Regions from separate parts of the Homo sapiens genome. Here region 1 is linked to region 2. The links are contacts of gene promoters, found by promoter capture Hi-C in human tissues and cell types (Jung and others, 2019). All regions are on one chromosome and are shown on one strand. The core of a region is centred on a gene start or on the middle of the fragment in contact, and the rest is flanking DNA. Distances in the headings are between cores, read along the strand shown.

Region 1 (3,776 bases), core at 976-3,475, 1.0 Mb after region 2:
CACGTTTACTCCACTGCATTCTCGCAGAGTAGACGTTCCACCAGGAGTGAGGGAGGGTCTGACGTATCACCTTGAATTCCCTGTTGGTTATAGAGATTGCTTTTTCACTTTTTCAAAATTCAGTATGAATGGAAGTATAGACTATGAGGTGGTATTGATTTATCACGTTGGGTTCTCCTGTCCATTCCTGTCTGCTGGGGAGGAAGCTTCAAACCCATTCTTTCAGTTTAAGTGGTTTTCATCAGTGAATTGATGGTCATCTAGGCCCTGAGGCTGCCACCCAGGAGCCCAGGAGTGAGACAGAAAAGGGTGGAGCATCTTCTTTGGCTTTTTAAACTCAGCGCTAGCTCTTACTCCGTGTCCCTGTTAAAAGTCTAAGGTCCCTATGGGCCTGTGCTGCACCTTGCTTATTTTTCTGTCTCCTACAGCATGTGGGCAGTGCCCTGTACATAGTAGGCATTCAATAAATAAATGTCTGTTGTATTAAACAGTCATTTCAATATCAGGGTGCCAGCATGGTTAGCTCCTGGTGAGGGCCACCTTTGCATTTTGGCCCCACATGGCAGAGAGAGGAAGCAGGCTCTCTGGTGTCTCTTCTTATAAGGACACGAATCCCATCTTGGGGGCCCCACCCTCATAAACTCATTTAAACCTAATTGTCTCCCAAAGGTCCCATTTCCAAATACCACTGGATGTCAGAGCTTTAACGCATGCATTTTGGGGAGATATAATTCAGTCCATGGCAGTACCCAAAAAGTGAAATAAGAAACCAACTGTCGGCCAGGTGCAGTGGCTCATGCCTGTAATCCCAACACTGGGAGGCCGAGGCAGGCAGATCACGAGGTCAAGAGATCGAGACCATCCTGGACAACATGGTGAAACCCTGTCTCTACTAAAAATACAAAAATTCGTTGGGCATGGTGGCACGCACCTGTAGTCCCAGCTACTCGGGAGGCTGAGGCAAGAGAATCACTTGAACCCAGGAGGCAGAGGTTGCAATGAGCCAAGATCGCACTACTGCACACCAGCCTGGTGACAGAGCGAGACTCCATCTCAAAAAAAAAAAAAAAAACCAACAGATAATGAAATAACTTTCCTAATATCTGGTGAGTGTGCTTGGAATGGAGTAATTTTCATAGAGGCAATGTATTTTCAAATGCATGACCTGGAAGCTAGTTTAGAAATAACTCTTCTCTTCCGGCCCTGTTTCCGCATCAGACAGCCTTTCCTCCCTCCCCCACTTCAGTGCCTGGTGTTCTGTGGTCACTTCAGTAGTAACAGACCAAGGTGAATAACATGTTAACAATACAAACATCTACCATGACTTTATGCCTAACGCTCTGGTGTGCTTCTTTAGACTGGCAGATATCTTTTTTTTTTTTTTTGAGGCAGAGTCTCACTCTGTCACCCAGGCTGGAGTGCAGTGGCGTGATCTTGGCTCACTGCAACCTCTGCCTTGCAGTTTCAAGCGATTCTCCTTCCTCAGCCTCCCAAGTAGCTGGGATTACTAAAAATACAAAAATTAGCCAGGTGTGATGGCGCACGTCTGTAATCACAGCACTTTGGGAGGCTGAGGCAGGTGGATCACTTGAAGCCAGGAGTTAGAGACCAGCCTGGCCAACATGGTGAAACCCCATCTTTCCTAAAACCAAAAAAAAAAAAAAAAGCCATGCGTGGTGGCATATGCCTATAATCCCAGAGGCTGAGGCATGAGAATCGCTTGAACCCGGGAGGCAGAGGTTGCAGTGAGCGAAGATCATGCCACTGCACTCCAGCCTGGATGACAGAGCGAGACTCCATCTCAATTAAAAAAAAAAAAACCCTTCTAGGAAACAAAACAGAAGGTCTCTATCTGTTGATGACCCTTGACTTGGCTGTGTGCTCATCAGTGTCATTGTCTATTTGTTTGGGTTTATAAAAATCATTTGCTTCAAAATACTTGAGCTTTGTGACATTTCATTGAAAAAATTATGGAAACCTGAGATTGCATATTTTAGGAAAAGCAGTCTCTCATCACTTACCCTTCTTCCATTGTATTCTTCTTGCAGCCCAAGCTGTTGGCCAAGGAGCTTCTTGACCTTGTGGCTTCTCACTTCAATCTGAAGGAAAAGGAGTACTTTGGAATAGCATTCACAGATGAAACGTAAGTACTGCCTTGAGCCCTCACAGCCCGAAGGGAGAGTCAGTGCAGAACCCGAAACTGCTCCACTCCAGCTGTTAGCAGCGAAATCAGCTGCAGACCACTTGGGTCCCATGGTCTGGGGTCAGTCCAAGTTCATCATCTGAATTTCAAAGGCCTTGTGGTCATGCCTGGTACAGCCAAAGGATATAATTAGGGTGATACTAATATTATAAAATTATTAGGTAAACTAGTTCTAATAATCAAGCAGGTTTGTGTTCAGACTGAAATGTTTATTTTTTTTTAAGTGGATCTATGTGAGTTTGTTTTCTATTTAAGTTAAATGAAAACTTCTGGAAATGAAACATTTCTCTCTACTGTTGGGATAACAATAACAGGAAGTGAATTTGATGATAAATTCAAAATGAAAATAACCTGTGCAGTTTCAGTGTCTAAACTGAAATAAAGCGACTATGAAAATAAAAAATTCAGATCACTGATCTGATGAGAAGAATATTTGCTTTCAAGGGTCTTTTCAGTTTGGCTCTATAAAGTGGTGTTGTGTAATACAAGTAAGGAAAATCTTTACTAAAATTTCCATTTTCTTTTTAAGGTACTGTTATCAAAAGAGTATACTGAATACCTGTATAGATTTCTAGATAAAAATGAGCTATTCTAAGAAAATAGTTCATAATTCTCTTTCCTCTGTGCACACACGTACAGTCACAAACACACACACAGACTCTCTCTCTCTCTCTCTGTCTTCCAGATCTTCAGAAATACAGAGATGATTTCCTAAACTACTAATAGATCAGTGTTAGGTTAGTGGCCAGGCAAGACAGTACAGGGGAGCCGAGGCCCTGGGAATCAGGTGGTGCCACTGAAGCAAGAACAGGTGGGCATCCACATGGGCCAGTGAGAGAGGCAACCAGGTGTCCCTGCACATGGCTACACTTGGCCTTGGTGAGATGCAAGTGGAAGGGGTGGTCTTATGACTTATTATCCAAATTGAGACACTGAACAAAAGGGGGTGTCGTTGGGACTGTCTTGGGCAAACCGGACCATCTGGTCACCCTGTAAATCAGGGACATTTCAGGCTGTGGTGTGTTCAGAGAGCAGGCAGCAGGAGCAAAGCCACATCTTCCTCAAGAAAGCTGGGAGGAGCAAGGTGGGCCCCTCGTCCTGGAGCCTGCAGGGAACTGGAATGCAGGTGGGAGTGGCCGTCGGTGGGCAGGAGGAATTGCAGGCAGGGCCAAGTAAGCCCAGCTGGGAAAGGTTCAGGGCTGTGCGGGGAAGGACCCAGCACTGCAATTTTTTTAAAAGCTTTTAAACAAATGCACATGTAGAACAATTACTTTTACAAATGTAGATTATTCTCTCCCCTTTCTCCTGAGAATCACTGTAAACCACTTAAATTGCTGTTGAGACTATTTTCACTAATCAGAAGGAAACCCTAAGTTTCAATTAATCATAGCCCCATTGTTCACATTTCCCACGTAAGTTTACTAAAAGATCCCGTGAACTCTAGAGGAGGCCTGATTAGGCTTCCCTTTTGAATAAACAAGAATTGAAAAACGAACGTGTGATCCTGGGCTGAAGGGGAAGATGATGTGAGTCTGCAGAACATTTCAGATCACTGCCCTAACAGCACTGACTG
Region 2 (4,107 bases), core at 1,505-4,004:
TCAAGTATTACTACAGTAGTGAAAATGAAAACCCCTAATTATTATAGCAATCTATAATTTGAGGAGACAGAAGTCTGGGGAAGCAAGCCTGTTTTAATCTTCTAATTAAACTTACAACAGATGATTAATCTGATTCTTACATAAGACGTTAATTTAGCTGTTACTCTAATGATTAAATTTGTAAGTCAAGTGGAAAAGTTCGTTCCCAGAAAGTGTCACAAAAGATCCTGAGGAAGAAAATCAATAGTGTCTACATAAATTACGAAAAATTGTAATAGATTCAGCAAAATTCAACCACATTGTCAATAAGTCTTCAAATTCCCACAAAATCTTTGAAATCCTCTCAGTTAAAAAAAATCTAAAAATGTGAACAATCCAAATTACCACCTCTGACGCAAATTACCAAATTGACCTGTCAGCAAGAAACTAACATCTGAGTGAATCCCATATCAGAGAAGATCCAACACTAAGAATCAAAAGACACTGCCTACTGGGGGTACTCTCTGTAATGACTCAGTCATAAAAAGCAATGAAGAAACAAACTATGCTGTTTCTAATTTCTTTTCACATTATGCTTAGAATTTATGAACATGTTCCTATTACCATATTTAAAAGTATCATTTGATTCCATACCTTCTGCCCAGGATCTGCTTTACTTTCATTACTGTATTTGAAATATTTCTTATTCTACTTTGTTTTGCTGCCAATCCAACAATCTGAAAAAAAAAATAATATATATATATATATATTACAATGTATGTAATTTTAAATTATTTCAGAAGTACAAAAATGGGGGGACTAGTACCTCTTCATTTTCTGAGTAAGCAACAACAGCTGGAGTAACTCGGTCACCGGCATCATTTGCAACCACACCAGCCCGGCCATCCTAGAGAAAAAAACACGAAATACATAGTCTCATTAGACGTATTCAGACGTGTGCATTTGTGCACCAGTGTTACTTTGCCATCTGTGTGGAAAGAAAAACTGCTATCTCAATATTTTAAACTTGCAAATTTAATTACCATTTAATTTCCTCGTTTTCATAGAAAGCCTATAATTCCATGAAGAACTGCCTCATGTTTTCAGTCTGCTCTGCAAAGTCAACAATTGAATCAAAAGTAATAACAACCTTTCTACACACAAAACGAAGGCTATTATTACGTTACCTTTCCTACCTCTCTTCCTTCTTACCATTACCATTTCTTTTTTTTTTTTTTTTGGACACGGAGTCTTGCTCCGTGGCCCAGGCTGGAGTGCAGACTGCAGTGCCAGATCTCGGCTCACTGCAACTTCCGCCTCCCGGGTTCAAGCCATTCTCATGCCTCAGCCTCCTGAGCAGCTGGGATTACAGGCGTTCCCGGCTAATTTTTAGTATTTTTAGTAGAGGCGGGGTTTCACCATGTTAGCCAGGCTGGTCTAGAACTCCTAACCTCACGTGATCCGCCTGCCTCGGCTTCCCAAAGTGCTGGGATTACAGGCGTAAGCCACCGCGCTGGGCCCCTTTCTTCCCATTTCTACAAATGAAGTAGTATTATTCCCTTTGGCTTTTCCTAACAAGTCATTTGACATTTAAACGCGGGACTAGTGGCAACGGAGTTCATGATTATCGTTTCTTCTGCCTCCCCACTGATGAGAGAAAGGCCACAAGTCCTGTCAGGCTCTCACTTCCAGAAAGGCCACCTCTGTAGACCACGCACCATCAACTGGCTTCACAGCCAGGCAGCTTTGCGGGACCATCAGCCCCAGCTCGACTGCAGCCTCCCCGCCCCTCCGGGACCTAGACGTTCGGGCCCAGCTCAGCGCGTTCTGCGGCCCTGCTGTCCCAGAGACCACCGCCTCCAAGTACCTCGCGGCCACAACTTTCCCAGGACCTCCCACCCGCGGGAATCCTGAGGCCCTGACGTCAGCGAGACCCCTTCCGGCATCCAGAGGCCAGGACGTCCCCGTGACCTCCCCCAAAATGCTCGCAGCCCCGCCGTCCCCGGGACCCCCCGGGACACCCAGCGGCCCCGCTGTCTCCGGGACCCCCCCGGGCACCCTGCAGCTACGTCGTCCCTGGGACCCCTCCGGGCATCCCGCCGCCATGACGCCCTGGGACCCCGCGCGTCTACATCGCCGCGAGCCTCCGCCGCGGAGTAGACGACTTTCCGGAGGAATCGCCAGGCGCGAGGCCGGGCCTGCCCGGCCCTTCGCTCCGGAGTGTCCTCGCGGCAACGCCACTCCACGACATCCCTAGGCCGGCGACACGCCGCTCTCAAGCCTGTGGATGACCCAGCGCCAGAAAACCGGGTGGCCGTCATGAAGCCCTAGCCCAGCTCCGCAGCCCCTCACCTTATAGACGGCCACACAGGCTGAGGTGCAGCCCAGGTGAACTCCGATGGCCGCCATGAGGCAGCAGGGACGGCAGCGGCAGGAATGAGGGGGTCCCCCAACAGCAACAGCTACCGGCCGCCCAACGGCCCCATCAGGCACCGCGGAGCTTCACGTTCCCGCCAGCCCCCTGCGTCCGGTCGGCCGCTACAGCCTCCCGCGTCGCCGCCAATCAGCGTGAAGGTTCCGCCTTTCTTCACGCGCAGTCCGCGAGTAGCTTCAGCGCGTCTCTGCGCTCCGCGGAAACTGCACAGTGCGCACGCGCAACCGGGGAGGGACGGGAAAAGGCTCCTACACTCCGCCCCCTTCCTATCCCTTCCTTGAGAGCCAATGGAAACTCTGTGTTCAGTTGCGTCATTTGTCCTGGCAACTACTGGCAGATTCTTTCCAACCTCGAATTCTGCTCAGCTCGCTTTGGCAGCTTGGTGGGCGGTGGGCGCGGGTGGCGGAGGCGATTGAAGCTGCTGGCCCAGCATGTGGTGCGCGAGCCCAGTTGCTGTGGTGGCCTTTTGCGCCGGGCTTTTGGTCTCTCACCCGGTGCTGACGCAGGGCCAGGAGGCCGGGGGGCGGCCAGGGGCCGACTGTGAAGGTGAGCGGTGTGACAACTGCTTGCATGGCGGCGGCCCCGCGCTGCGGCGCAGCAGCTGTCGGCTTTGGCTTCTCCTGGCCCTGGCTATAAATAACATTCCGCCCAGGAAATGCAGGCCCTGTCCCTCGTTTTAGATCGCCCAAGCCCAGCTCGAGTAAAAAGCTCAAGCCGGGCCTGGTGGTAACGTGAGGCCACGTTGTGGTTTTGCTGTGAATATTAAACTTCAGCAGTAAAAGCTGGTGGGTTTGTATTTGGATTAGAGTTTGTGCAAAGAATGCTAGATTCAGATGATACTGGCGCCAGATTGATTCTGCTGCTTCCAACCAGCAAGATTTGCCTCCCCTTGCACAGAAGACGTCTTTCAAGTCCAAGCTAGTTGGTGACTCCCCAAAGGAAAACAAAACATGGCATTGAGTTGAGTAGCTTAAATCAGAGGACATAGCTAATATTTGTTAGGACTCTGTAGGTGAAAATTGCTTTGCAAAGGAGTACACTGACTCCTTGGGAAAGAGAGGAATACAAAAGAGTGGTTCCTTTTTGTTCACGGTATCTCAGCTGTGAACTCGCAGTCAGAATACGTGAGTCTGTATCCCACCAAGTCCCCTAGCTCTGAGACTTTGGTTTTTGCAAAATCAGCGTACTTCACTTTAGAGATCTGTTAGCAAAGGCAAAGAAGGTAAGTGGCTATGCTAGCCCCTTCCTTCTGGACTCCTGTAGCGCTCACTCCATGTTTTACTGAAAATAATTAGTTTAAATGTATATGCCCTCAGCTGGAAAATATATCCCTAGTGAACAGGAAATTGTAGGTTCATCATATATGTTGAGTGAATGGATGGGTATAGTCGTACTAAAGTTGTGTTTTTGTTTGTTTTGTTGTTTTGTTTTTTGTTTTTGTTTTTGTTTTGAGACAGTCTCACTGTGTTGCCCAGGCCGGAGTACAGTGGCACAATCTTGGCTCACTGCAGCCTCCATCATCGGGTTCCAGCGATTCTCCTGCCTCAGCCTCCCAAGTAGCTGGTACTAAAGGCACCACCACCACGCCTGACTAATTTTTATATTTTTAATAGAGATGCAGTTTCACCATGTTGGCCAGACTGGTCTTGAACTCCTGGCCTCAGGTGATCGGCCCGCCTCAGCCTCCCAAAGTG

Evidence for each region. Contacts are between HindIII fragments. The study calls those that stand out against the background at their distance.
Region 1: a contact is called between a fragment that was not itself captured here and the fragment with the promoter of CDNF in region 2, in 1 of the 25 tissues and cell types used here (dorsolateral prefrontal cortex).

The regions. Positions count from the first base shown.
Region 1 is chr10:13,809,181-13,812,956 of GRCh38, reverse strand. FRMD4A (FERM domain containing 4A) reads left to right here. Exons shown (of 25, transcript NM_018027.5): 4 at 2,049-2,143. Among named protein-coding and RNA genes, the nearest start is that of FRMD4A-AS2, 180 kb to the left of the region's middle. The HindIII fragment of the contact is 4,303 bases long and covers 74-3,776 here.
Region 2 is chr10:14,836,684-14,840,790 of GRCh38, reverse strand. It overlaps CDNF (cerebral dopamine neurotrophic factor), which reads left to right and starts at 2,754. Exons shown (of 4, transcript NM_001029954.3): 1 at 2,754-2,959. The coding sequence starts at 2,845. It overlaps HSPA14 (heat shock protein family A (Hsp70) member 14), which reads right to left and starts at 2,485. Exons shown (of 14, transcript NM_016299.4): 1 at 2,332-2,485; 2 at 806-886; 3 at 634-716. The coding sequence starts at 2,388. It overlaps MSANTD7 (Myb/SANT DNA binding domain containing 7), which reads right to left and starts at 2,485. Exons shown (of 5, transcript NM_001378785.1): 1 at 2,332-2,485; 2 at 806-886; 3 at 634-716. RefSeq lists an enhancer at 2,202-2,441 and a silencer at 2,592-2,701. The HindIII fragment of the contact is 11,564 bases long and covers 1-4,107 here.